Linked DNA regions of Homo sapiens: all the other regions are linked to region 6. Evidence: promoter capture Hi-C in human tissues and cell types (Jung and others, 2019). All regions are on one chromosome and are shown on one strand. Each heading gives the region's core, a stretch centred on a gene start or on the middle of the fragment in contact. The rest is flanking DNA. Distances are from core to core; before and after follow the strand shown. Region 1 overlaps KIF13B (kinesin family member 13B). Region 2 overlaps PPP2CB (protein phosphatase 2 catalytic subunit beta). Region 3 overlaps KIF13B (kinesin family member 13B). Region 4 overlaps KIF13B (kinesin family member 13B). Region 5 has its middle 49 kb from the start of DUSP4. Region 6 holds the start of DCTN6 (dynactin subunit 6). Region 7 overlaps LOC124901922 (a long non-coding RNA gene).

Region 1 (3,864 bases), core at 115-2,614, 950 kb after region 6:
TAATTTCATTTTTTTTTTAAAAGGTGGGGTCTTGCTCTGTTATCCCGACTAGAGTTCAGTGGCACAATCATAGCTCACTGCAAGTGCAAGCTCATCAGTTCAAGTGATCCTCCCAGTTCAGCCTCCCAAGTATTGAGGACCACAAGTGCATGCCACTATTCCCTACTGAGTTTTGTATTTTTTTTTTTTTGGTAGAAATGGAGTTTTGCTATGTTATGCAGGCTGGTCTTGAACTCCTGGGATCAAGTGATCCTCCCGCCTCAGCCTCCCAGAGTGTTGGGATTACAGGTGTGAGCCACCACGCCTGGCCTCTTTTTAATTTGAAGTACCAAGCTTTCCAACTTAGATCTAAACTCTAGACCTACCACTGGTTATAGTGAAGACAAAGGCTTTAGGTTTAATTTGATTTCATAGCTATTAATTCTAATGACATTACTGCTGCGAGGGACATTTGAATTTGGGATTCCTTGTTTAGCCTAGCTGGGATTAGGTTTTGGAATCTTAAAGCAGATTGTATTATGTAATGGGGTGTGTAGAATCTGTAATATAGCCCTGACACGATTGTGATGGCTCTGTCTGTTAGATTCTTAGGACTTGGATTTGGAAGTGTTCTCCTTATTTTCCTATGAATTTGTGAGTCGGTGTTTTTCTTCAAGTCTGAAGAAAAGAAAACTCTTTTCTGTTTTCTCTTAATAGGAGGAATTTGAAACTGCAGGGGCCTAGTAGGAGGTGGTAGTTGTTCAGATCTACCTGTTGCTGCTGTGTGGGAACTTAAGCCTAGCATTTCCAAGTCTTCTGAATTTTCAAGAGAATTTGAAAATCCAGATTTTCTAATGTGATGTCTTCTAATTTTCTACTTTTGATCAATACAGTGAGGCCTGAACAAAATGCTTGTGGACCTTTTTTTTAAAAAAACTTTTTTGGTGACAGGGTCTTGCTCTGTCACCCAGGCTGAGTGCAGTGGTGTGATCATAGCTCACTACAGCCTCCATCTCCTGGGCTGAAGCGATCCTCCTGCCTTTGCCTCCCAACATACTGAGATTACAGGTGTGAGCCACTGTGCCCAGTCGGGCCTGTAGACCTTGAGTGTGTGGCCTCTGGTTCGGAGATATAGGTGTAGAAAAGGTGAAGGGCTGGGGGGAAATTAGTTAATTTCATATTCAGTGAACATTTTCCCCAGATCAATCTAATCAAGCAGAAATTCAGTCATATTAATCTGATCAAGAAACACGATGGAAAATAGGGATTAAATTGAAAACCACAAATACTGAGAGAAATAAAAATTAGAAGCTTTCTTTGCTTGTAGTCTAAGAATATCTTAATCCGCCTTTTTTTTTTTTGGTCTGTGGCCGAAGGCCAGATGTCTGGCCCAGGGCCTCAGCTCAGTAATGTATTCTAATCTCTGTATATAGAATACCTTGAAGTTATTTGAATTTGCCATGATTAAAATGAGTGTGTATTACCCTGTGAATGTGGGATATGAAATATACTTCATCAAAAACCCTCCACAAATGAGTCAGTATTCTTTGGCCAGATTTAAACTTTCTTTTTATTTTTCTTTAAAATTTTTATAGAGATGGGGGTCTTGCAGTGTTGGTCCTGAACTGCTGGACTCAAGCAATCCTCCCACCTCAGCCTCCTGAATAGCTGGACTGCAGGCCCACACCACTGTACCTGGCTAGATTTAAGCTTTCTTATAGTGAAAGTGGACGATGAAATGAAACTCATTCTGCCGGTGTGTTTCACAGATGAGAAAAGACAAGTGATTTGCAAGTGATTGAGTTAATACTGAGTGTATTCTTTGAATTATGCTATCCCAGTATATGACAGTTTGAAATTATGGAATTTATATATCAGAGTCTTCATATTTCTAAAGTCCTATGATTATGAAATATACTAGTTGTGGTTCAGTGGCCATATTGCTTGGATGTCCCTCTGTTCTCAACCAGTTGTTGTTTGTGTGGGTGGAAGATTCGAATAGAATGGGGTTGTCAAACTTTTTTCTACATTTAAATAAGTTTTCTCCAAGGACTGCAAATTACCAGTATCTACCAACTGTCCTGAGTGGGATTGGACACAGGAGATGTCTAACTGCTCTTTTCAAACAACCTTCCTTTTCTAGGTCTCCTCCTACCTTCTGGGGTAATTGGCACCAGTTTCAGTCTTTTCTTGTATTCTGTGGATGCATTTTCTATCTTTTTTTTTTTTTTTTTTTTTTGAGACGGAACTCCCTCTGTCACCCAGGCTGGAGTGCAGTGGTGTGATCTCGGCTCACCACAACCTCCGCCTCCCGGCTTCAAGCAATTTTCCTGCCTTAGCCTCCTGAGTAGCTGGGATTACAGGCATGCACCACAATGCCCGGCTAATTTATTTTGTATTTTTAGTAGAGACAGGGTTTCACCATATTGGCCAGGCTGGTCTCGAACTCCTGACCTTGTGATCCGCCTGCCTCAGCCTCCCAAAGTGCTGGGATTACAGGCGTGAGCCACCGCACCTGGCGCATTTTCTGTCTTAATGTCGTGTGTTTCAGTTGTAAATATCTCCAAGTTTCATTGAACATGGAAACATTGTTTTCTTTATTGTTTTGGACATGATTTTAGAGACAGAGGATGGTGGTGGAAGTGGTTTTATTTTCCCCATAATACTTCTTCGAGAGTAACATAGGCTGTTTAAGAAAGATAGTGTCTAGGGAACTCATGATTAAACTGAGAAATTTAATCATGAGTTTAATAAATGAATAAGTGAAGTTTAATAAATGAATAGGAGTTAGCCTGTAGAGTCCAAGACAGAAATAGTCATGTATGAAAGCCCTGAGACTGAAAGATTGGTACCTGGGTCAGTCCCACATGGGTGAAAGGAAGACCAGTAAAAGATGTAGTTGGAGATAGAGAAAGGGGCCAGATCACCTGAACAGCTTAAGAAATATTTGCAGAATAAGCAAAAAGCCTTGTGTTGGACATTCCCGTAAAGGAAGAACACTTTGTCCTTCAGAAGCTTATGGTCTAGCCGAGATGACATGTAAAAGTTTATTCTATCATGAGACAAACCGAGTGGTCCTACATAAGCAGTAGAAACAGTTTCGGCTTTATGTAGGAATTGGGGAAGGAAATCACTTTTGTATAGGGTTCAAGTGGATGGATGCTTGAGGGAGATAAAGTGTGATCTGAGCCTTTCTCTTGTAGGTGGGCCTTAAGCAAGCAGAATTGCTAGGGGGAATGGTGTTACCTAAGTTAGGTATATGGAGGACAGGGGAGTGACGTAGCTGAGTTGGGGGAGATGACGCCTGAGCCTCCAGTGGTCCACAGGTGGCACTGATAGGGATGTTGGAGGCTCACTGCTCCTTTTCTTATTGTCAGTGAAAAGAGTTGAACAGTGAATCTAAGGCAGCTTCACATTCCTTGTGCCAGTTCCCAGCAGATGCTTTCTGCTCTCCGCTTAGACATTCCACTGCTAGGGGAACTGGCTGTCTCTTGAAACAGTGTTAATTATTCTTATACTAAAGAAATAACCCACTTCCTATAATCCCAGCACTTTGGGAGGCTGAGGTAGGCAGATCACCTGAGGTCTGGAGTTCGAGACAGCCTGGCCAACATGGTGAAACGCTGCCTCTACTAAAAGTACAAAAATTAGCTGGGCATGGTGGTGGGTGCCTGTAGTCCCAGCTACTTGGGAGGCTGAGGCAGAAGAATCGCTTGAACCCAGAAGGCAGAGATTACAGTGAGCCAAGATCTTGCCACTGCACTCTAGCCTGGGCAACAGAGCAAGACTCTGTCTCAAAACAACAATAAAATAAAGAGATATCCCACTTGCGGCAACCTTCCCCAGTATATCTTACTGAATGCAGCCCTGGAAGTGACCTAAAAC
Region 2 (4,176 bases), core at 14-2,513, 650 kb before region 6:
GAACAAATCATTGTTTTCCTTGCTAAGCCAGCCTCTTAGTGGACAGGTAAAGAAATTAAACCAAACTAGACTAGCATGAACTATTGCTAATGGCGGGAAAGTGGACTTTGTTACATTTCTCTACTTTATATATGACGTGTCAAATATATATGACTAGGTAAATATATTTAATACTTAATACTGCCCTTTAACAATAATATACCCTTGCCATAAGATATTTACCTAAGTAGATAAAGTGAAGATATTTGCAATGTAAAATTTCTTTTCATTGCCTGCTTTTATTGCCGTGTGTGCCTTTTATTCTTATTTGAAGATCTTGCAGAAATTTTTTCTTCACAGTCTTTTCTCTTCAGTACGAATGTTATAAAAGACTTGGTGAATGAAGCCCTTCCTTGGTAAAAGGAAATGAAAATGCCAGAAATTGAAGATGGAATTAATGCTTAATTAATTTTCCTAGATTGTTTTCTGAATGTAGTTTTTTCTAAGAAGAATGATATTAAAGTTACAGAAGTAATCTGTATAAGAAATCTGAGTCTGTGTTAAATAGAAATTTTTTATTGTTTTGAACTGATTTCCTTCAAGTAAATGTAATGAAATGTAAACCTAATCCAGATTGTTTAAAGAAACTTGTATGAAGACATCTTTTCTTCCTTAATGACCAAATGTGATCTAATAGTTCCTGTACGTTACTTTTCAACTCTAAATTTCATTAATAATCATATTAACGGCCGGGCATGGTGGTTCGCGCCTGTAATCCCAGCACTTTGGGAGGCCAAGGCAGGCGGATCATGAGGTCAGGAGATCCAGACCATCCTGGCTAACATGGTGAAACCCCGTCTCCACTAAAAATACAAAAAAAAAAAAATCAGCCAGGCGTGGTGGCAGGCGCCTGTAGGCCCAGCTACTCGGGAGGCTGAGGCAAGAGGATGGCGTGAACCCAGGAGGCAGAGCTTGCAGTGAGCCGAGATCGCGCCACTGCATTCCAGCCTGGGTGACAGAGGGAGACTCCATCTCAAAAAAAAAAAAAAAAAAATCATATTAACCCTGGGAAGGAGTTCTGTGTATTACAGATTCCGTTTCCTTTCCAGAGAATGGGAGAGCTCAAGCACTCAAGCTTAGAACTGGTTTGCTGTTGTGTCCTTTGTAATTTAGAAATATTTATCATCATTCCTTGTAAACTGTTTTTTGACTGAGATACTTTTGTGATCAAATGAATTAAAAGACAATCCTGAGGTGCAACCTGAGATTCCTGACTTGCGTTATAATAGCATCATGTTACACCAAAAATGTGGAAGACTCCATTGGAGATCTATTAAGTGAATATTTTATACAAAGACAATCGTTTTTATGTTGAGACTGGGATACAGTGGTGAATTTAAGTGTTCTCACCTATTCAATCTTAGAAAAAAGCTTATTTGAATTAACTTTTTAGCATAGTTGGATTTTTTTTAATATGCAGGATACGGTGTGTAGGCTGTAGTTTAATTTTGCTCAAAATCTCTTTTTTTTTGTTTTTTTGTGATGGAGTCTCTCTCTCTGTCATCCAGGCTGGAGTGCAGTGGTGCCATCTCGGTTCACTGCAAGCTCCGCCTACCGGGTTCATGCCATTCACCTGCCCCAGCCTCCCGAGTAGCTGGGACTACAGGTGCCTGCCACCACTCCCGGCTAATTTTTTGTGTTTTTAATAGAGATGGAGTTTCACCATGTGAGCCAGGATGGTCTCGGATCTCCTGACCTTGTGACCTGCCTGCCTCAGCCTCCCAAAGTGCTGGGATTGCAGGCGTGAGCCACTGCGCCCAGCTCAAAATCCCATCTTATAGAGAGGGAAATAATTTTCATCTTCGTTTAAAAGAGTTCCGCATGATATTTATGTCCTGGATGATGAGAGCTCAGAATTGGTTCAGTGTATTCTCGACTTGGCTTGAGTAGCAAAAGAGGCGCTTGTTCCTGTGGGCAGTGAAGAAGAAAGGAGAGGATTGGTTGACAGAATGCTGCCACTGTGTAGTTATCCCGTACATTCAACAGATTTTAGTTGAACCACTATGTACCAGACTGTTCAAAGTGCTAGAGATTCAGCTGTGAAGAGGGGACACGATTAATGAACACCAGGCATTGATTCTTGCTGGCAAGAAAAAGCAGAAGATGGGGACAGTGATGGGCTTGAATTCAAGAGACTCTTTTTTTTTTAATAGGGTGGTCATAGAAAACCTTCCAAATTCTTTATAATGTGGTTTACTTTTGTAATTAAAAAGGATTTTGCGAGAGTTAGAAGGCACAGTCCCTAACACTGTTCTCACCTCTGACACCATCTTCAAAAGTTTAGTCATGATGTACCTTCAGAACAGCAGACAAAAAATAAAGTTCAGTGAACTATAAATTACAGGGAACACTGCCCAGGACTGCCTCAGTTTTGGCACCAATATACTAGTTCAGTGGGTTCCGAAAACCACTCTTAGGTTCAGTGATTCACAGGAATGACTCACAGAACTCACTTTAAGCTGTTACACTGATGATTATGGTTTATTACAGGGAATGAATACAATTTAAAGTAAGCCAAGGGAAAAGACTCATAAGGGCAGAGTACAAGAGGGGCTGACATCTGTAGTGTCCAGTCCTCCAGAGACCAAACTGATAGTGGGATCATCCAAAGTCCGCATCGTGAGTCACATTGTTAATGGTCCGCAGGTCAGAGCCCCCAGGCAGAGATCTCTTTACCAAGCAGGAAATTCCAGGGGCAAAGGCCAGACCTCTCCTCGGGTGAGGTTAATTCTTCACTATACAGATTTTTATTCCATAGCAAATTCTGAGGGACGAGAACCTTAATAATAATAAATGGCAATACCAAAATACATGAAGAAAACAAGGCTAGATTTATCAGAATTGTGGAGTGTGTGCAATGTGAGGGATTTTTCCAGTTGAGTTGGCATATTCTTTTTTTGTTTTAAGTTTGTATTTTGTCAACTGGGCACAGTGGCTTATGCCTGTAATCTCAGCACTTTAGGAGGCCGAGGCGGGCGGATCACGAGGTCAGGGGTTTGAGACCAGTCTGGCCAACGTGGTGAAACCCCATCTCTACTAAAAATACAGAAATTAGCTGGGTGTGGTGGCACGCGCCTGTAATCCCAGCTACTTGGGAGGCTAAGGCAGGAGAATCACTTGAATCCAGGAGGCGGAGGTTGCAGTGAGCTGAGATGGAGATCGCGCCACTGCACTCCAGCCTGGACGACAGAGCAGGACTCCGTCTCAAAAAAAAAAAAAAATTGTATTTTGTCTTTTCTTGGTTGTATAAATTCTCCAAAAGTTAGCCATTTAAAAATGTTTAAGGTCTTATTTTCTACTTTGTGATATGTGTGTATAATTTTTACTGTGCAAGTTTTAGCATTTTTGTATAGTCTGATTGTCCATCTTTTCCATAAACTTTAAGCGCACATGAGAATCACTTGGGAAAGAAATAGGAAATTCATGTTCCTTGACTCCATTCCAGAGACTGATTGACATGTCTTGGGCAGGTCCAGGAAGCTGCTTTTTTTTTTTTTAAAGGCAGGATCTTACTGTCGCCTAGGCTGGAGTACAGTAACATGATCATAGTTCACTGCAGCCTTGTACTCCTGGACTCAAGCCATCTTCACGCCTCAGTCTCCTGAGTAGCTGAGACTACAGGAATACACAACCACACCTGGCTTTTTTTACTCATTTTTTTGTAGAGACAGGGTCTCCTCATGTTGTCCAAGGTGATCTTGAACTCCTGGACTCAAGTGATCCTTCTGCCTCGGCCTCCAAAAGTGCTGGGATTACAGGTGTGAGCCACTGCCCCCGGCCTCCTTTGTGCTTTCAGTGTCATGAAATACCTGTATTTGTCAAGAAGATTAAGACCATGTCTTAAAAAAAAACAAAAGCTAGTGAGATACAAGAGATAATCTTAAATATACCTATAAAGTCCTAGGAACTGTTCGTCTGATTTATTTAGGAGCCGAAGTAAAAGTGATCTTTCCTGACAAATACAGAAAGAGATTTTTGCTAGCATCACTTCTTCCAAAACAATTTTCCTCATTTATGCAATAAGTTTGGATTTTCACTTCTTTATGTCACTAAGTTTCTGCGTGTTGCTAAGTTCCTGGCTGCATATTTGGAGTCTCTCCAACAGCAGCATTGTCAGCATTCCCACAGTCGGTTCTT
Region 3 (3,663 bases), core at 509-3,008, 1.0 Mb after region 6:
TTTTAGATGATTTAAAACTTTAGTTTTTGGTGGCAAACGGAATAATGAATTGACAGTTTTCCACCATTGTGCCTCTTTCGGCTTTGACAAAAATTTTGTAGCGTTTTTACCATTATAGAATCTCAAATGACAGAAATATGCACAGGGAAGTAGTGTAAAACAGTGATAACTAGGATAACTTAGAGAAAGGTATAGTTAGTTACCTCATCTTATGGACATGAGTCTTTTTCAAGGAGAATCACTTCTTGGAATTGAGTGCAGAAAACTCTGATGGTTAGCATTAAATGACTCAAAACTTCTGAAAGAACCCTGTAGTTCTTTTTGTTAGAACTGGATTTAAAGACTTGATTTGAAGACCCAGGACCAAAATACACATTTCAATTTTGTGGTAGTATACTTCTAGGCAGGATATATTGGCTGAGTTGCAGTGATTGTATAAATTACGATGGCATGCCTAGAAATAGCAAAATTGTGAAACTTTATTTTAATTATGCTGCGAACTTACTTTGTGGCTGTAGTTAAATGACTTAGTTTGTCTTGCCTTTCCCCAGAATCAGAGGTCTTGGGTGATTGACTCATTGCTACTTGCTATTTACCCATAGTCGAAGATACCCTCTCCAGCCCCGACTGTACCCTAACTACAGAGCATCTGGTTGTGAGATCCATGCCCATATCCTTACGATGTACAGATGTTCATATATTGTATGGGTTCAGAGGCAGGCACAAAAAAGGAAAGGCCCGTGTTATGAAAATAACGCTTGAGTGCATATGCAAATTTGTTTGTTTTTGGATAAATTCACCACACTGATGTTTTGAGTGCTCACCATGTGTCCTTCACTGTGCTAAGTGCTGGGAACACAACAGTATATAAGATAGGATCCATACCCACACAGCACACAGTCCTGTGTGAGAGAAATGGCCCGGTGAACAGTTACGAAGTAGAACACGTCTGCTCCAGATAGAAAAAAGAGGTATAAAATCTTTTCAGCTAACGAGAACACAGAGAACGTTTGTTTTGTTTGTTTGTTTTTTGTTTTTTTTTGGGGGGGGGTTTTGAGATGGAGTCTTTCTCTGTCGCCCAGGCTGGAGTACAATGGCATGATCTCGGCTCACCACAACCTCCACCTCCCGGGTTCAAGTGATTCTCCTGCCTCACCTTCCCGAGTAGCTGGGATTACAGGCACCTGCTGCCACAGCTGGCTAATTTTTATATTTTTAGTAGAGATGGGGTTTCACCAGGCTGGTCTTGAACGCCTGACCTCAAGTGATCTGCCTGCCTTGGCCTCCCACAGTGCTGGGATTACAGGCATGAGCCACCACACCCAGCCCAGAGAACATTCTTAGCACTCTCAAGGACCTGGAACTTGTTTCATGCAGTGCTGGGTTTGACAGGAGTGAGAAGACATGAAGCCAGAGGGGAAGCAGGCCAGGTTGAAGGGCCTTGTGATCCTTACTGAGGGAGTTTGGCCTTTATCCTGATGGGGAGGTCACTGAAGATGTCAAGCAGGAGAGTTTATTGATCCTCCTTTGCTTTTAAGAAGGATCCCGGTTGAGGAAAGTGCACACACTTTTGCTTTTATATATACAGAGTTAAATGAGATGAATTCAAGACATCAGATATTTTCAAGAATGAAAACTGAGAATCACTAGTACAATTAGTTACTATATGTAATAGACTTTATTTTTCAAAATAAAATTAGAATTAACAAAAAAATCATATAGTTTGGAAAGAGAAAAATGCAATAAATCTATAATGCCATAGCCTAAGAGAATGTATTTGAATTACAACACTATTGAATAATTGTAACATTGTAATGTAAACGCTTGGATATCTCACTGCCTCAATAGCTGTGAAATTAATACTTCTCTGATAACATTTACAGGAACGACAGAAACAGCTTGAGAGTCTTGGAATATCTCTTCAGTCTTCGGGAATCAAAGTTGGGGATGATAAATGCTTCCTTGTGAATCTGAATGCTGACCCAGCTCTGAATGAGCTTCTGGTGTACTATTTAAAGGTGAAGTAATGTGCTTTGCTACTAGATTCTTGTTACAAAATAGGACAATATTTCACAGTACTTTAGTAAACTTGGGGAACCATGCTTACTCAGAAAACAGCAAAAAGTTATAGAACCATCTTGGGTTTCTGGACTCAGTTTTCTTTTTTAGTCTTTGATGCCATTCAACCTGACAATATAAAAAAATGATACTCTGATATTATTTCCAACAAGTCAAATACCTTACCTACCATTATTTAACGTGATTTGTATCAGGGAATTAAGTAGATAACTTTAAAAATGGATGACTTTGAAGACTAAATGATTCATTTAGTAAGTATACGAAAGCTTTTATGGTTTATGTGAAGCACATTCTTTTGTGAGCAGTGTGTTAGCTCACAAGAAAAAAATGTATAAATAAAGTTCTTAGGACCAGTTGGTATGAAATTTATGTTTCCAGTAACTCTTAGGAAAAATTAAAAATTTGGGTTATCAATCTATTAAAAGAGAGAGAGTATAGGTTATTTAGAGACTCAGTGAGTCAGAGCACAGAACAGAAAAGAAGACAAATATTGGTATCCACTGAAATCTATAAATCATGGGATATATTAGTAAGATAAGAGACAACTTCAGAATAAGTCTGAACCCTGAGACACCACACAGATTCGAGGAGTGCCCAGAATGGGCTGTGTCAAGCCCAGAGCACAAATTACTTATCATATATGATGGACTACACGACTCTAACACAGAGTTGATAACTGTTGGCACACAGTTTCTTTCCCCTCACATGTGTGGGTTTAATGAACATGACCAGGAAAGTAAAGCTAACAGGCTGACTATGTGGGAAACAGCTCTAAGAGAATTGTGTGGTTTCATTTCAGAAAAGCCTGGAGAGATCCTGGGTCAGTGACTCTGTGTCATTTTGAGAAGCCCTGTTGTTAATAAGTATCTTATATGATGTATTGTCATGCTGTGAGTTAGGCTGTGTCTTTGATGCATACCTTCATATGTGCATGTCTCAAGTGTTGTGGTTCAGTGGCGGCAAAGCTGGGGTAGGAGGGAGTGACCTGTCTCTCTAGTCTACGGCCAAGCCCTTTGCCCCCTCTAGTCTAATTCCTTTGTAAATGGAGGGAAGGTCTCTGGCTACTTTGCCAGGTTCCTGTGAGGGTTGGAGATACAGAAGTACTTCGTAAACAGAAGCACTATACAAATAGAAAAGATCCCACATTCCACTTTTTTGTTTGATACCTGTATGGTTTCTTATACACATATTATCCTTGCCTATTAAAAAATGATATATTATTGGCTGGGCGTGGTGGCTCACACCTGTAATCCCAGCACTTTGGGAGGCTGAGGCGGGCAGATCACTTGAGGTCAGGAGTTCAAGACCAGCCTGGCCAACATGATGAAACTCCGTCTCTACTAAAAATATAAAAATTAGCCGGGGTGGTGGTACATGCCTGTAGTCCCAGCTACTTGAGAGGTTGAGGCAGGCCAATCGCTTGAACCTAAGAGGTGGAGGTTGCAGTGAGCTGAGATCATGCCACTGCATCCCAGCCTGGGCAACAGAGCAAGACTCTGTTTCAAAAAAAAAATGTATTATCACATTACTTACTTTGCTTCTGAACAGTGCTGGTAGCATTCTGAGTTAGGATGTCAGCTGGGG
Region 4 (3,924 bases), core at 842-3,341, 930 kb after region 6:
CACAGAAGCCTTGGTCTTTGCTTTCTGAGGAATCCACACTAAGACGTCCTCTCGCATGCCCTTGTCTGTGTCCTCAGGGATTCTCTTGCTGTGTGTTGAGCTGGCTGTCCGTTGACCTGGCCTTTTTGGGCCTGTCTGGTCCCTTTGCCCCCCAGAACTTGGTATGGATAGTAAGGAACTGAACTTAAATATTAGGAAGAGGATAGGCCAATTTATAGATTGGGTTAATTTTTAAATTGATCAACCCCGTAAGCAGTAGCAAAGCTGCAGAACAGAGGTGCTGCGAGGGAGTTTAATGATTACCACTGTGTCTGGGGATGGGAAAGGCAAGAGTTGGTTGAAGAGAAGCATGACTCAGACTTGGGTGTGAGTGCTGGGCCTACTGTTTACCAGCTGTGTAAATCTGGAAGTTTATATCACCTCCCTGAGCCTCTGTTTCCTTTTCTATGAAGTGGAGGTGATAACACTGTGATATGGATCATGCAAGATTACCGTGGGCATGAGTGAGTTATTTATGTAAAATGTCTGGTACATGGTACCTACTTAGTAGGTGGTAGCTGCTATTTTGCCTTGATTTATTTATTCTTGTCAACTCTCTTAAACAAATTTTATTTATTAAAACATCATATTTTAAGTAATATTCTTTTCAAATAACACTGGCATATATGGTAGGTACTCAATAAATATTAACTGGGTTAGACATGTAGTCAATTATAATACCAGGTTTCTAATAACAAATGATGCCCTTTTGCTTTTAATTGACAATAATCATAGCTGTTTAAGCTGTAGATCTAAGTGTAGTTTCTTGATGCCCCAGATAGCAACTGTAAGATGTTTATTTAAGGGATTGTGGGTTTCCTCTGAAGAGCATCAATTTGCATAATATTGCTCAGAGTTGGTTTCTTGAACTATCATTATCATAAGAAAAGGAACTCCGTGGTCAAGGTCTTTGAATGCTTAGAAGGTGTCAGTAATGCAGACACAGCCAGCACAGCATTCTTGGAAATACAAGAAGTGAATAGAGACTTTAGTTTGTGGATCTTCTCATTGATGACAACCAGCATTTATTTATAGGCATTAGTATTGTTTATATTGTGTTAGATCCTTTGCAAGAGTATAAGTTCTCATGACATCTTACAACAAACGATATAGGCATCACATTGTTATCTCAACATTTTCAGAAGGGAAATGAGACTCAAAGGTGTTACAAGGCTTCCCAGGGTCACATGATCAGAAAGTGGCAGAACAGGGATCTGAACTCAGATCTGCCTAAGCTCGTCTCTCCAAAACTAGATGAGCTCACAGCTTCTCATTGCCTTCTAAGATTTTACAGAAGAGTTTCTTCTCTAAACATTTGGAAAAATGTAACTGGTTAATTCAGATTAGATCAGAACTAAAGACATTCAGCAGTTATTGATTGACATCTGATACACATCACTCCAGAAGGGTGTCCTGATAAGGGAAAGATAAATATGACATGCTTTTTTTTTTTTTTTTTTTTTTTAAAGCTGACATTCTGGAGTTAGGAAAAACCCACATACAGCTAAGTGTGTATCATATTCATTAATTCATTCAACAACCATAGAGTGCCCTCTGTGTGTTTATCAGGATGTTGACCCTAAGAAAACACTGATAAACAAAAGAGAATTTGGTTCCAGCCTTCATGGTCCTTATTAGTCTTGTGGGAGTGTTATGAACTGATCTAAGCCGTTTTGGTCATTTGTAACAAGATATTAACAACCTTCTATGTTTAGAGTTAGGTGAGAGCCTGAGGCCTTCTCCTGCCCAATCACACCACCAGGAGATGTGTTACAATGAAACTTTGACTGGGTTCTGCTGCATCTTTATTAGCAAGCAGCCACAGCATTGGTCATGCCACCTGTTCCTGTAAGCTCAGTGAAGCCACAGCTCTCAGACAAGCACCTTCCCCAGAAGTTTCCCTTGAGACAGATGTAGCAGGATTCAGGTACTCTTTTGATCAAAATTATGCAATAGAATCTGAATTCAAGTCTGGATAGAGCCCTAGCTAATGACAGGGAACAGGATGCTAGGTTTGTTAGTCTTATACTTTGCTGTCCTAAGAATGGAGGAACCTGTATCTCATATATATATATATATATTTTTTTAAGATGGAGTCTGGCTCTGTCACCCAGGCTGGAGTGCAGTGGCGCGATCTTGGCTCACTGGAAGCTCCGCATCCTGGGTTCACGCTATTCTCTTGCCTCAGCCTCCTGAGTAGCTGGGATTACAGGCGCCCGCCACCATGTCCGGCTAATTTCTCTATTTTTTTTGGTAGAGACAGGGTTTCACCGTGTTAGCCAGGATGGTCTCGACCTCCTGACCTTGTGATCCACCTGCCTCGGACTCCCAAAGTGCTGAGATTACAGGCGTGAGCCACTGAGCCCGGCCCATATTTTTAGTCATTATTTTAGTCACACTTTCAACACTATGCACTTTACCAGTGAAAAATTATTTCTAACATTTCTTTTGCTAATTAACAAGCCCTCCAGTTCATGCCCAATGATGTACTTTGAAAGGAAAAAAAAAAACCAAATTATAAAAAAAATTTCCAGTGTTGATCAGGAAAGAAAGGTAGCTGAAGGCGCTAAACACAGCTTCTAGAGCAGACTTAAAAAAAATTTTTTTTAAAGTCTTGCTCTATTGCTCAGGCTAGAATGCAGTGGCACTATCATGGCTCATCATGTACTTGAACTCCTGGGTTCAAGTGATCCTCCCACCTCAGCCTCCTGAGTAGCTGGGGCTACAGGCGTGCACCACCATGCCCAGCTAATTTTTCAAGTTTTTTGTAGATTTTTGGGTCCTTCTATGTTGTCCAGGCTGGTCTTGAATTCCTGGCCTCAAGTGATCCTGCCACCTTTGCCTCCCAAAGCCCTGGGATTACAGGCGTGAGCCGCTGCTGCCAGCCTGGAGCAGAAATTCGCAACCTTTTGTTGGTCATGAACCCTTTGACAGTCTGATAAATCATGTGGACTCCTTCTCAGAATAATCTTTCAAAAACATAAAATACATAGGATTATCAAGGAAACCAGATACGTATTGAAATATACCTAGGTCAGGAGTTCAAGACCAGCCTGTCCAACATGGTGAAACCCCATCTCTACTAAAAATACAAAAATTAGCCGGGTGTGGTGGTGGGCACCTGTAATCCCAAGTACTTGGGTGGCTGAGGCAGGAAAATCACTTGAACCCAGGAGGCAGAGGTTGCAGTGAGCTGAGATCATGACATTGCACTCCAGTCTGGGCAACAAGTGCAAAACTCCATCTCAAAAAATAAAAAATAAAGTGTAAACCACTGTAGCAGTTAGTATAAAATGCTTTTTATTAATAAGTGGCAGAAAATATTAAATATTTCATAACTTGAGATGAGGATTGACTATAATTGAAATAAGTATTTTATGTTGTGATTTAATAAAAATAGGTTAACTACCTTATTGAATCCTTATTGAATAAGGTACATCAAAAGCCTGAAAGAAATGGTATAAAAATGTATCTGTGCATATAGCTGATGCATCCTAAAAGAGTAATTGGTCATCCTTCTTTAGCTATTTCAAAGTACTTTGCCTTCCAATTAATGGCCTGTCTTAGGGGTGAGTATTAACCCATTTATGCCTGAGGTTGCAATTTTTGCAGTCAGACCTTGGTGATGACCTTGAGCAGAATATAAATAAATTAAGAACAGATGAAAATAATTGCTTCCATTTTCCAACTTGGAAATCTACACTTTAGCTACAATTAACAACGAAACTTAAACAGAAGCTATTTGCTAAGAAATTATATCTTAAATCAGACCATTAGTCTGTCAAAATGAAAGTGAAAATTTAAAATATGGAAGTGAAACATGGGATGCAGAGAAGAACACATGTCAGAGACCACGCGGGTGTAAATTTTAACATTTAGTCTTGA
Region 5 (3,837 bases), core at 1,210-3,709, 760 kb after region 6:
CAGAAGTCCTAGTCCCAAAGGAAAAGATAAAAGATAGTGCAGTTAGGTCAGCCCAACATAGAGTAAGCCAAAATACACTTTATTTCCAGTCTTTTTGTTCTTCTTTTGACCCCTAATTGTTGCATGCCTCTCTCTCTCTCTCTCTCTCTCTCTCTCTCTGTGTGTGTGGCGGGGGGGCGGGGGGCGGCGGGCGGGGGCGGCGTTGCTTGCTTAAATAAACAAGAAAAGTCTCTGGAAAAATACATAAGAAACTGATAACACTGTTTGCTTCCAGGAAGGGAACTTCTTGTACCTTCTGAATGTCAAGTGAAGTGGAAGTACTACCTATGCAATCGATATATAAATAAAATGTATAAAAAGCAGAATGGTTCTCAACTCGTGGGATAAGGACACAGTGGTCCGTGTCTTAGAAGTAGTGAATGTCAGGTTGTAGGTGACAATTTATTAGTGAATGAAACATTTCTAAATGATAATCACAATGGGAGATCTCACAATCTCACATTCACACACACACCACTTCCAATATATGGCAAAGAGGTTTTAGTTTTGAATCGAGAAGATGTAAATCTTGTTTTTGAGACAGTGTCTCGGTGTCGTCCAGGCTGGAGTGCAGTGGCGTGATCTCAGCTCACTGCAACCTCTGCCTCCCGGGTTCAAGCAAGTCTCCTGCCTCAGCCTCTGGAGTAGCTGGGATTTCAGGCATGCGCCACCATACCTGGCTAATTTTTTTTATTTTTAGTAGAGACAGGGTTTCACCGTGTTGGCCAGGCTGGTCTCGAGCTCCTGAGCTCAAGTGATCCACCTGCCTGAGCCTCCCAAAGTGCTGGGATTACGGCGTGAACCACCATGCCTGGCCGTAAATCTTTAATAATACTTCTATTTTAATAATTGTTAAAATAACACATACCAAATATAGAAAAGATTTTTAAATATTCTTTAAAAAATAAAAGTAACTTTAATCCCATAACCAGAATTAGTTATTTCAAGTACTCACTCTGCCCAGACAGGATAGATGGATATCACAGACCATTCATTGGTCATATCTGACTTAACCTCAATATGAAATTGGCCCAGAAAGAGATAATTTCTTTTTAAAGAATCTGCCAGCCTGAATCCATAGCTTGATATTCTGAATATTCTGAATATTTTTTATTTAGCATCCTTCAACAAATAGAGCTACAATTTTTTAGCTGTCTTGAGGTAGGCAAATATCTGTTTTTGGTGTTGTTTGTTGTTGTTGTTTGAGACAGAGTCTCCCTCTGTTGCCCAGATTGGAGTGCAGTGGTGCAATCTCAGCTCACTGCAATCTCTGCTTCCCAGGTTCAAGTGATTCTCCTGCCTCAGCCTCCCGAGTAGCTGGGACTATACGCGTGCACCACCACACCTGGCTAATTTTTCTATTTTTGTAGAGACGGGGTTTCACCAGGTTGGCCAGGCTGGTCTCGAACTACTGACCTCAAGTGATCCACCTACCTCGGCCTCCCAAAGTGTTGGAATTACAGGCATGAGCCACTGTGCCTGGCCGAGGTAGGTAAATATCTGATTCCCGCAGTACAGGAGATTCTCTAAGATCCCCTCAGAAAGTAGACTTTTCCTAATCTGGATGGATTGAGGTCAAGCTTTTCCAGAAAAGAAGTGGTCACAGTCAACCATACCAACCATAGGATCTTCCGTGGCCCACTGCTGATGGAGAAGTTCCAACCTTGAACAAGGTCATCTGCAACCCTTCACTGCCAGTTGATATCCACTCAACACTCCCTCCAAAGAAAGAAACATTCAGCTTATTTTACTGCTTTATATCCCTTAAGGTAAACTCCCTTTGGAAGGCTAAAGGAAATCCAGGGATGCCACAAGCAGAAGCAATGCAAAGCGTATTGTTTAGCACTATTTGAAGGTGCAGTCCCCCAGTACATCACACAAAGTATTGATAGCATTTGCGAGAATTGGGCTCACTTTCCTTTTTATCACTATTTGGGAAAGTAAACCCATGAAAGGCAAGGCTTTGGAGTCAAATAGATGAGGACCCAATTCCTGGTGCAGCCAATTATTTAACTGAGACTTTGGGCAAGATTTTTAATCTCTTTAAGTTTCTATTTCCTCATCCATGAAATAAGGATAATAACGCCTTCCTTATAGAGTTTTTGTGAGGTATAAATGAGAGGATATAAAAAAAATTAACCCAGTGCATACTACGTGGTGCACTGAACAACTCTTATCTGTTATCATTGTCCACATATTGTGGAAAAAAGGGTGCCTGTCTCGTAGGTGAGTAAACACTACTCAAAGTTTCCAGGGACTCAAACTCTTATATTCTATGCCTCTGGGCTCTAAAGCAGTTGACTTTTTAGAGCCAGCAAAGTAACAGCTGGTATCTTGGGCTCCATCTAGTTCTATCCTAAACTCCTATACCCCACATCCCATAAGAGAGCTAGCAATACATTCACATAAAGGAATGAATTTTATCATTTAGGATTTAAGTGGATCACGGGTAAGCTGTCGTTAAGAGTACTCTGAACAAATAAAAAGTTGTTGGTTTTAACATCTTTTTCTAAAACCCCAAACAGCCTGGGAAGCTTTGCAAAGAGAATGCAGGGATTTAAAAAAAAATCCCATTGGTCGCATTTAAAAATCAAGGGCTACTAACATCAGCTGCCATCTTCCCCAGACACAAAGAGGGCATCTCAGCCCCTAAAGGACTGAGCAAGTGACTTCAGGGGACTTGGGAGTTCCCACTCTCTCTTTTCTACATCTTTGTGCTGAAGGTCTCAAGGTCACAGAATTTATAACTTTTTAAAATGACAAACAAAGCACATTTCCTATATTCCACAGCAGTGAAAAATGTCAGCATATAAGGCACTTGTGTTCAAAATGAACATTTTCCCACCGATATAAAGAGAGAGCAAGGCACATTGGCTAAATTCCAACTTGCTTGATATGTTCTGTAAATTCTTCCACTCTGTTCCTGAAAGGAGTCCATGAGAATATGTACTATACTCCCACAGCTTTTCCCTTTTTCCCTGTACCTTCATTCCCACCCCACCCCTACCAAATAACAATAACTAAGAAAAAAAATTAAGATGTCTTGCATTTGTGTGATCGGTTTTTGTTTAAGTAGGTTATATCCTGTTTATTTTATGAGTAGAGAAATTAGAATGAAGTAATTCAGGTCATTTATACGAGGCATTGTTGTACTGAAAAATATAAAGACTATAGGACCAAAAGTTAAGTTCTACCTTCAATATTTCAATGTAAATTGAATGACTTAAGGACACACACACACAAGCCAAAAAAAACCAGTATATCTAATCCCAGTAAAAATTTCTTTTTAATAGAAATTAACATGAATCTATAAGCTATGAGTCAGCTACCTGTAGGAAACCTGTTGAGAAGGCACAACCGGTACAAGGGAGAAGGGGCAGAATCCCAGGTGATTCCTCCATTAGGAGCCAGTGACATCCCAGCGTCATATCCCTTGGTAGTGTGACCGTACAATCCATTTGCCAGGTACAATCATGGCTTATGCCTGCAGCCCCAATTTAAAGAAGGACCCCTCCTTCACCCTACTGATGGGGAACATTATAAAGGTGTCGAACGTTCCATAGGGGGGTGACAGAGAGAGGATTTGTTTCTCAGTGCAGACAAAATATAGGTGAGTTGATATTGCGCAGAGAATGATGAAAGGCATGAACAGCAATAGAGCAGAGCTAATGTTGCACAGGAAAGGGTCTAGGAGGGTTACTGTCCCACAGGGCCATCATAGCATGTTATAACCCTTTGCCCTTTGAACTCTGTGTGTTTTGTGCTTTGGGCATTTACAGCATTCTCTGTCATACTTGT
Region 6 (4,153 bases), core at 369-2,868:
ATCTGTAAAAGTAACAAGTCAACAATACCTTAATCTTCACTGTAAGCTACTATCTACTGCTATCTACTGCACATAATATTTATAGTACATCTGTTCCTCTTTAGCTTATGAAAAAAGATTACAGAGTATCTACTTAAATGGAAGAAAAATCTACATTTTAATTTATGGCACCAGAAACAATGTCAGTTTTCTTTGTCAAAAATAGTCAGCAGAGGGAGCTCAACACTGCTGCTGTTCGAAATGGCTTTACTTATGCACTTGTCTCATCCCAGCCACCAACAGCCACCAACAGCCCCCAGCAATGAAGACTACCGGAGAAGAAGCCAAACTTCCTGTCCCCACATGTTTACAAAGGAGCTTGTCCACTCCACGCCTGGCAAAAAATGTCACAGTTCTAAGCTTATACACTATTGGTGGGAATATAAATTAGTTCATCTATTGAAAATAGTATGGTGATTTCTCAAAGGACTAAACACAAGTACCATTGGACCCAGCAATCCATATAGAGCTACCAATCCAAACGGAACTACCATTCGACCCAGGATCTACTCAAAGGAAACCATTGTATTAAAAAGACAACTGCACTCCTATGACTATCACTGTACTATTCACAATAGCAAAGTATGGAATCAACCTAAGTGTTCATCAACGGATGACTGGATAAAGGAAATGTGGTGTATCTATACGATGGAATACTACAGAGCCATCAAAAAGAAAGGAAACATGTCTTTTGCAACAACATGGATGGAACTGGAGGCCATTACCTTACGCGATAACTCAGAAATAAAATCAAATGCACATGTTCTCACTTTTAAGTGGGAGCTAAAATGAGTACACATAAACATAAAGAGGGAAATAACAGACACTGGGGACTCTAAAAGCAGCGAGGGTAGGAGGGGTTTGAGGGCTGAAAAATTACCCATCTGATACAATGTTCACTATTTGGGTGGTAAGTACACTAGAAGCCAACTTCACCATTACGCAATTTATCTATGCAACAAATCTGCGCAAGTACTCCTTGCATCTATATAATGTGTGTGTGTGTGTGTCACAGTTCAAGTCCAGGCGCGGCCCCCCTTTTGACAGCGACCGTAAATCCCTTTACACACCCCACCCTCCAGAGACAGGAAGGGCCTGGGGTGCGGCCAGCACTGGCGTGGGGGTCTCGCAACATGCAGCAGAGAATCCAGCGCCAAGCCGTGGGGTACAGCGGCGCCAAGCACCGCCGATTATGCGGGAGAAGGGAGCCGGCCTTCCCCAGGAAAAAGCTGACGTCACCCTCCCCTCACAGCCCCCCCCGCCCTCCCGGCCGGGAGACCCCCTCTGCGCAGGCGCATGTGGGGAGGGACGGCCAGACAGGAACAAAAACCTTCCAGGCAGCGACTCCGCGTCCCTTCTCAACCCTCCCCGCCCCCACTCCGTCGCCCCCTCCCTCAGTGGACGCCAGGTCTGGGCTTCAGGTACCTTCGGCCCGAATGCCCAGGATGAGACACCTTCTGAGTCGCCACCATTGGCGACCAGGAACAGGTTCCACCCCTACGGAAAGCTGAGAAAAGGCTTTTCTCAAGCAGCAAACCCACCTCTTTTGAGTCTTCTCCGCCATGGTACGGCCCCAATTGGAACGTAGATCGACACCACCGCCTGGGTAGAGCGATAATTCCACATGCGATTGGAGAGCCTGGCAGGGTTGGGGGAGGGGCGGAGCCGGGGTGGGGCGGGGACCCGGAAGCTTGCGACTCTTGTTTGCGTCGCGTCTGGGCGCACAGGACTGTACTTTTGGTAGCGGTGCGGGGCCGCCCGCGGACTTTAGCCCTGCATAGAGATGGGTAGACCCTAATTTGGAACAGCCATTGACTGGGCACAGGCCAGCACTTTGGGAGGCCGAGAGGCCGAGGCAGGAGGATCGCTTGAGGCCAGGAGTGCCAGACTGCGAGACTAGCCTGGGTAACATAGTGAGACCCTCTCTTCAAAAAAAAAAAAAAAAAAAAAAAAAAAAAGCCTGTCACGGTGGCCTGCGCCTGTACCCCAGCTACTCGAGAGGATCGCCTGAGCCCAGTGAAGCTGCAGCGAGCTGTGAGGATGCCACCGCACTCCGGCCTGGGCTAAAAAGCTAGATCGTGTCTCTGATAAAAGAATAAAAGCTGTTTATTGCAATCCAGTCCGCGTCATTATGCCCTCATTTTACCCACTCGCGTAGGCGTAATTACACCCTAAAGGTATTTCTCTGACCTCGCCGATGTCCTTTTCAGCCTGTCTTTCTCTACTCATTAGGGCTCCTTCTGGCCCTTTTCTCGCTCTATATGAGTGCATCCTTCCTATAGGTTAAGTGCCCTCTACCTGTTTGCTCTCTAATGAATGTCTCTGGTTCTGCCCTCTGTGCCGATCTTCACACCTGACATTCGGTTGACTAATTGACATCTCCGCTCAGAGTCGTATCGAACCTAAAACTTACAGAACATGACTTTCGATTAACACTGCCGTCCTCCCTGCAACCTGCTGCTTTTTTGATCCACACCATTTGCCTAGCTGCTCAAGCCAGACACTCAAGAGTCACCCTGGCACTCCTCACCCCTACATCTGTAATAGATCTGCAAGTTCTGCTTGTCCTACCTCGGGTCTCATGCTTACACTTTTGTCTACCGGACCATCTCTCTAATCTCAGCCGATGTGTCTCTCCCAGTTGTTCACTCATTCTGTACTTGGCCTCTGAAATCACACCTCCTCATCTCCCACCCCCAACCCTGATCCAAGTAGTTCTCTTGTAGTCAAAATCATCCTTTAAAAGACAAATTGAGGCCAGGCGCGTGGCTCAAACCGGTAATCCCAGCACTTTGGGGGGCCGAGATGGGAGGATCGCTTGAGGCCAGGAGTTGGAGACCAGCCTGGTCAACACAGCATGATCCCGTCTCTATATATTTTTTCTATAATGTATTTTTTTAATGGAAAAAAATTAAAAATAAGAGCCAAATTCAGTTATTTCCCCTTCCTCTTAAAATCTAAAATCCAAACTGCTTTCCATAACCTATCTCTGAGCTACATCCAGCCCCTGCCTACTTCTCTCTTTCTCTTTCTATGTGTTCGATCACACCCTCATTCTCCAAAAAAGCAAAGCTGACTCTCCACCCCCAACCGCTTCCACTTGCCCCCACCCTAACACCTTCTGACCCTTTATGTCTCGGATGTCACATACTCAGTTTCCAACCAGAGAAACAGAACTAGTAGTAGATGGATATCAAAAGGCTTATTGTAAGGAATTGGCTTACATGATTGTGGAGCCCCAGCTAAGCAAGTCCAAAATCTGTACACTAAGCTGGAACTCTCATGCAAGGGGTGAGGCTGTTGTTCACAGGAGGAATTTCTTCAGGGAAGCCCATCTCAGCTCTTATGGCCTTCAACTGATTGAATCAGGCCCACCCAGATTAGCTAGGATAATCTCTCTTCCTTAAAGTGAACTGATGATGGGCTTTAATCACATCCACAAAAATACCTTTACAGCAGCATCTAGATTAGTGTTTGACTAATGACTTGGGAATGTAGCCTAACCAAGTTGACACAAAAAACTGACCATCACACTCAGGGAAACCCTCCTTGACTGTCTTAGTTCTTTCTGGCTGCTATAACAAAATACAGTTGGCCCTTTGTATCTGTGGGTTTGACATCTGTGACTGGTTGACAGCAACCCACGTTGGATCAAAAATTTGGGGGAAAAAATTACGCAAGTTTCCAAAAAGCAAAACTTGAATTTGCTGCATGCCAAGTGCTACATTGAAGCCACATGAATGAAGTGATATGTAGGAATTGTATTAGATATTCTGAATAATATAAAGATGATTGAAAGGATATGGGAGGATATGCATCAGTTAGTTATATGCAAATACTACACCATTTTATATCAGGGGCTTGAGCATCTGCAGATTTTGGCATCAGGGTGTCCAGGAACCAGTTCCCCAAGCATACTGAGGGACAGTTATACCTTAGACTGGGTATAGTAGTCCTTTCTTATCCTCGGGGGATACATTCCAAGACCTCTAGTGGATGCCTGAAACCACAGATAATACTGAACCCTCTATATACTATGCACACATTTCCTTTTCCTCATTAACAGTTTCATGGGTAAAAGATTTATTCTTACCATAGATCTTAGCAACCTCAG
Region 7 (4,202 bases), core at 102-2,601, 840 kb after region 6:
CCGAAGAAGGAGCTAGATTTTCTTTTATACTTTGGTTTAGAAAGGGGAGGGGGGGGTCTAGTTAAAACAATTTTACAGAAGTAAAGTAGGCAAAAAGTTAAAAGGATAAGTGGTTACAGGAAAGTAAACAGTTCCAGGTGCAGGGGCTTTAAGACTATTACAAGGTGATAGACCCGGGGCTTTGGGCGTTATCAATCGGACGAATTCCTGGGAACTGTGGATATAGCTTGCCACAGTATCTTATCAGTTAATTGCATTCTTGAATGTGCTGGGAGTCAGCTTGCACAAGGTAAGTCCTTGAGGAAGGGGCTGCCAGTGTAAGAGCCAAGATGGAGTCTGTCTGGCTCTCTTAGCTAAGGGAGAGTCAATTCAGGTGGAAACAAGGCTAGGTGATTAAAGGAAAGGGAGAGTCTAAAAACAGGGTTAGTAAAAACCAGGTTGGGCATTACAGTATCACCCAGACAACCAAGTGTTCATGTTTAACCACAAAGCCCTCTTGTAATTGCTGAAGGGTATTTGCTTGTAATTGCTGCGACCATTCTTCAAGTTGTTTCTTTAACTCACATTCAAGAGTAGAAATTTGAGAAGAAATACGGTTGTGATAAGCCCCTTGCAGGTGTGCTTTCACTCTCTCCCAAGCATATTGGGAGCTATTATATGGCAGAGGTGTGACACAGATAGGATTATATTGCCAATCACAATGTAAATTTTGATGGGTAATGAATGCCTGCTGCTGACCCCCCAGCCATTCAACTGCGGCTTCAAGAGCCTCCAGGTGAGACAGAATAGTTTTATCAATATTTACCTGTTCCTGAAATTCATGGGTTACATTATATACCATGTGGTTCACCACTGAGGCTATGTGAATAGATCCTGTTAGAGAGACAGCTGCAGTAGCAGCAGTTGCTAGTATGATAATAGCTGAGACTAAAAAGTCAATTAAAGTGGCCAGAAATCTTTTTTTCTGAGCATGAGACAGTGCTTTTCTAAATAGCTGCTGGGTGGAATTTCCTTCCCAGCTCCAGGTTAAATTTACAGGCAGCCACATTTCTGCATGCCGTTTTAAGATCATGACGTAGGTTATACTTAACTGTGTAACGTTTTGATAAGACAAGCATGTAGCATACCAAGTACTGGAAGAGACTTTAATACTATAAAAGGTCTGATTCTGTTTTATGTTAGGAACACCTCGCCCAAACAAAAGTATATAGGGGTGCATAGTACAAATCAGGACTGTGTCAGTAACATTATTATGCAAAGAGAGGGTATAGGTGCTGCCCTTAGTAATGTACTCACCATGTGAAAGAACTCATTCAAAAAAAAAAGGAAGTCCTAATCTCCAAATCTGGGTATGAACAGGGCTTAAAGCTTGTTTCCCTTTTAGTTGTAATATTGGTCCTGAAAGCCCATACTCTGACCAGGTGATAGAACTATTGGAGGGACTCCCAAACCCAATATAGTCTGATTTGCAGACGTAAGATAACCATGGGGACCCCAATCAAGTAAGGTGCCATTATTAAACAGAGGCCCTTGACATGGTGCAGATTGTCTGCATGGAGACCACTGGACAGCCTCAAACTTATATCACCAGTCCCCACTCGGACGGCATATAGGAAGATCAGGCACTTGTACAGCTTCATGAGAGACCTTAGTAAGATTAGTAGTAACAGCAGAAATAAAGGTCAAGTTTGCAAGCTTAGCATCCCTTTTAGGCTGATAGTTAAGATACTCCTGAGGAATGAGAGTAACACACTTACCATGTGCTATTGTGGAAAAACAAAGAGGGGATTACTAAACAATAAAATCAAGGAGTCATTAAGTTTAATCCATCCCAAATTTTCAGTTAAGGGGTATGACAGGGACACCTATCGACCTCCTGTCCAAGAAGTATCATTAGATAACAAAGGCAGGTCAGCATCCCACTGTGTAATAACATTAAAAACAAGGGGATTTAGAATATGACTCCAATAAACATGTTCTTGAGCTGATCTCACTTGGCAAAGGACAAGAATTACCAACCAGCCCAACATCTGTGTCTGTCTTACTTTTCTCAGAAGTTTCCCCAATTACCGCCAGTTACATAAGAAACTGATTCTCTGCAGTTGCAGGGGCCTCCACAGCGGCAAGCCGGATAGTTGCCTGTTGGTCCAATTTCTTTAGCGGTCCCCAGGTAATGTCAGGTGCCTTCTGAGTCATCACCGTCATTGTCAGTCAATTCTCCAATGACAGGTCCTATTCTAGAGAAGAGAGCCCCATATTCCCCCTTTTTTGTTTGTTTGATGAGTTTGTTTAATAACTGGTTGAGTTATAAGGAATACCAGTTTTGTGTTGTATGTGCCAAAGTTGCAATACATGTGCAAATCGAGCACTAAGATAGCAAGGTCTATTATCAGTTTTAATAGTTTGTGGAAGACCTAAAGTCATAAGAGATTCAAAAAGATGAGCAATTGCATCTTCAGTTTATTTCTCCAGTCCAGGGGGTAGCATGTATTAAGCCTGTATAAGCGTCTACGGTAACTTGGAGAAATTTGAAACGTCCAAAGGATGGATACTGAGTAACATCAGTTTGCCAAATAACATTAGGCACCAGACCTCGTGGGTTGGTACCAAGCCCTAAGGAAAAGGGGGAAAGAGAATGTCATTGGCAATCAGGACAAGTTTTAATAATCATGAGAGCTTGAGCAAGTGTCAAATGAAACTGTTGTTTAAGACTGTGGGCGTTCTAATGAAAAAAAAAACAATGATCAGCTTGAGCTTGCAAAAAGGCAGGAGACTCTGCAAACCACATCTGTGTTTGTACCAGAGCATCAGCTCGAAGGTTCCCTTCTGATAAGGACTAGATAGCCCAGAATGAGAGCAAATATGTGTGATGTAAAGAGGGTGATGACAGGCACAGAGGAGCTCTTGTGCTGTAAGAAACAAAGCTAGTAGGGTTTCATTAGTAATGCCCTTCGCATGTGCAAGATCTAAATCAGTAATACTACACCACATAAGAGGAATCACTTTATCATCATATTTATGTCATGGTGAGGAAAAGTTTGTAAGGCCAATATGAGGGCACCTAACTCCGCCTGTTGCGTAGTTTTAAAACGTTCCTGGATTTTGTGCTGCCAGTTCTGCGTGGCATCTTGCCACACTATAGTTGCCTTTCCAGTTTTTCCTGAACCATCTGTAAAGACAGAAGTGGCGTGAAGCAAGGGCTCAGAGACAACATAAATACAAATTTAACAGGCACAGTTTGTAAAAAGTTCAGGAGTTTAGAGGCTGGTCAATGAAAGCTGATATTACCAATAAAGTCAGTCATTGCTACTTGCCAATCAAGATCACAAGCTAGGAGAGTATGAAATTGTTTCTTGTTTAACAGTAGGAAAAGAGTAGTGGGGTTATTTTGGCCATATGCCCAGTTAGGCCACAATTATAATACGTGGCCCCAGTCAACATTGCAGCAAAGGTCTGAGCCAGATGGGTTGTAGTGCCTATATTCTGGCACACTTTAATAAACACGCTGATTTCAGTGGCAGTGGCTCGGACTGGAGTTATTGCTGCCTGACAATCCTTATTTGCATTTTCAAAAGCCAATTACAACATAAGAAGTTTGGCAGCTTTAGGATAGGGTGCCTGTTTTTTTATTGCAGCCTGCAATCAGTTGATAAATTCAATGTATGTTTCTGTGGCACCCTGTTTAACTATCATAAAGGAACCCTGGGATTGTCTTATGGGTATTTTTTATGCTTGTATTGTTAGCTGTGAGCATTGAGGAAATAGACGGCTATCTGCCTGAGCCTAAGCCTGAGCCTGAGTTGAAGCAAAAGGCCCTGTTCCCAATAGCATATCAAGTTGCATGGGGATATTATTATCCAAATTGTGTAAGGATTGCTACACGGCTAAATCACTGGACTCACTCCACCACACAGTATATTCAGCAGGTGAAACCAAAAGTTTTAGTAAAGTTTTCCAGTCATGTGGAGTCATCTTATAACCATTTCCCAAAGCCTCAATCATCCCCTGCGTAAAGGGTGAATGTACACCATTTTCATGAATACTTTTCTTTAACTCTTCAAAGGCAGTAAAAGGCAAACTCTCATGACGTCTCCTGTTGTTTTGAACAATAACAAGGAATGCGCCAAAAAGCGCCTCAGAGTCTCCCTTCCGAAGTCCCTCTTGGAGGCCCCCGAGGCCCCCGTCTACTAAGACTGACCGAG

The links. The method cuts DNA at HindIII sites, captures the fragments that hold promoters and counts their contacts. A contact is called where the count stands out against the background at its distance.
Region 1: a fragment that was not itself captured here is called in contact with the fragment with the promoter of DCTN6 in region 6 in 1 of the 25 tissues and cell types used here (dorsolateral prefrontal cortex).
Region 2: a fragment that was not itself captured here is called in contact with the fragment with the promoter of DCTN6 in region 6 in 1 of the 25 tissues and cell types used here (hippocampus).
Region 3: a contact is called between a fragment that was not itself captured here and the fragment with the promoter of DCTN6 in region 6, in 1 of the 25 tissues and cell types used here (hippocampus).
Region 4: a fragment that was not itself captured here is called in contact with the fragment with the promoter of DCTN6 in region 6 in 2 of the 25 tissues and cell types used here (dorsolateral prefrontal cortex and spleen).
Region 5: a contact is called between a fragment that was not itself captured here and the fragment with the promoter of DCTN6 in region 6, in 1 of the 25 tissues and cell types used here (lymphoblastoid cells).
Region 7: a contact is called between a fragment that was not itself captured here and the fragment with the promoter of DCTN6 in region 6, in 4 of the 25 tissues and cell types used here (aorta, dorsolateral prefrontal cortex, mesenchymal stem cells and 1 more).

Annotation. Positions count from the first base shown.
Region 1 is chr8:29,202,247-29,206,110 of GRCh38, reverse strand. All of the region lies in intron 2 of KIF13B (kinesin family member 13B), which reads left to right. Among named protein-coding and RNA genes, the nearest start is that of KIF13B, 59 kb to the left of the region's middle. RefSeq lists a silencer at 1-154. The HindIII fragment of the contact is 4,434 bases long and covers 1-3,581 here.
Region 2 is chr8:30,802,904-30,807,079 of GRCh38, reverse strand. The region is part of intron 1 of PPP2CB (protein phosphatase 2 catalytic subunit beta); the gene reads left to right. Among named protein-coding and RNA genes, the nearest start is that of PPP2CB, 7.8 kb to the left of the region's middle. The HindIII fragment of the contact is 4,399 bases long and covers 1-3,462 here.
Region 3 is chr8:29,159,088-29,162,750 of GRCh38, reverse strand. It overlaps KIF13B (kinesin family member 13B), which reads left to right. Exons shown (of 40, transcript NM_015254.4): 13 at 1,884-2,018. Among named protein-coding and RNA genes, the nearest start is that of KIF13B, 100 kb to the left of the region's middle. The HindIII fragment of the contact is 4,467 bases long and covers 1-3,663 here.
Region 4 is chr8:29,226,669-29,230,592 of GRCh38, reverse strand. All of the region lies in intron 2 of KIF13B (kinesin family member 13B), which reads left to right. Among named protein-coding and RNA genes, the nearest start is that of KIF13B, 34 kb to the left of the region's middle. RefSeq lists enhancers at 246-405, 1,082-1,131. The HindIII fragment of the contact is 5,379 bases long and covers 1-3,924 here.
Region 5 is chr8:29,398,122-29,401,958 of GRCh38, reverse strand. No RefSeq gene overlaps it. Among named protein-coding and RNA genes, the nearest start is that of DUSP4, 49 kb to the right of the region's middle. The HindIII fragment of the contact is 5,026 bases long and covers 1-3,837 here.
Region 6 is chr8:30,153,834-30,157,986 of GRCh38, reverse strand. It overlaps DCTN6 (dynactin subunit 6), which reads right to left and starts at 1,618. Exons shown (of 7, transcript NM_006571.4): 1 at 1,581-1,618. The coding sequence starts at 1,603. It overlaps DCTN6-DT (DCTN6 divergent transcript), which reads left to right and starts at 1,327. Exons shown (of 1, transcript NR_186490.1): 1 at 1,327-2,158. LOC124901927 (a long non-coding RNA gene) reads left to right here. Exons shown (of 2, transcript XR_007060880.1): 2 at 105-815. RefSeq lists a silencer at 1,248-1,357 and enhancers at 1,418-1,567, 1,511-2,493, 2,318-2,527. The HindIII fragment of the contact is 3,226 bases long and covers 1-3,040 here.
Region 7 is chr8:29,315,798-29,319,999 of GRCh38, reverse strand. All of the region lies in intron 1 of LOC124901922 (a long non-coding RNA gene), which reads left to right. Among named protein-coding and RNA genes, the nearest start is that of DUSP4, 33 kb to the left of the region's middle. The HindIII fragment of the contact is 3,690 bases long and covers 1-3,196 here.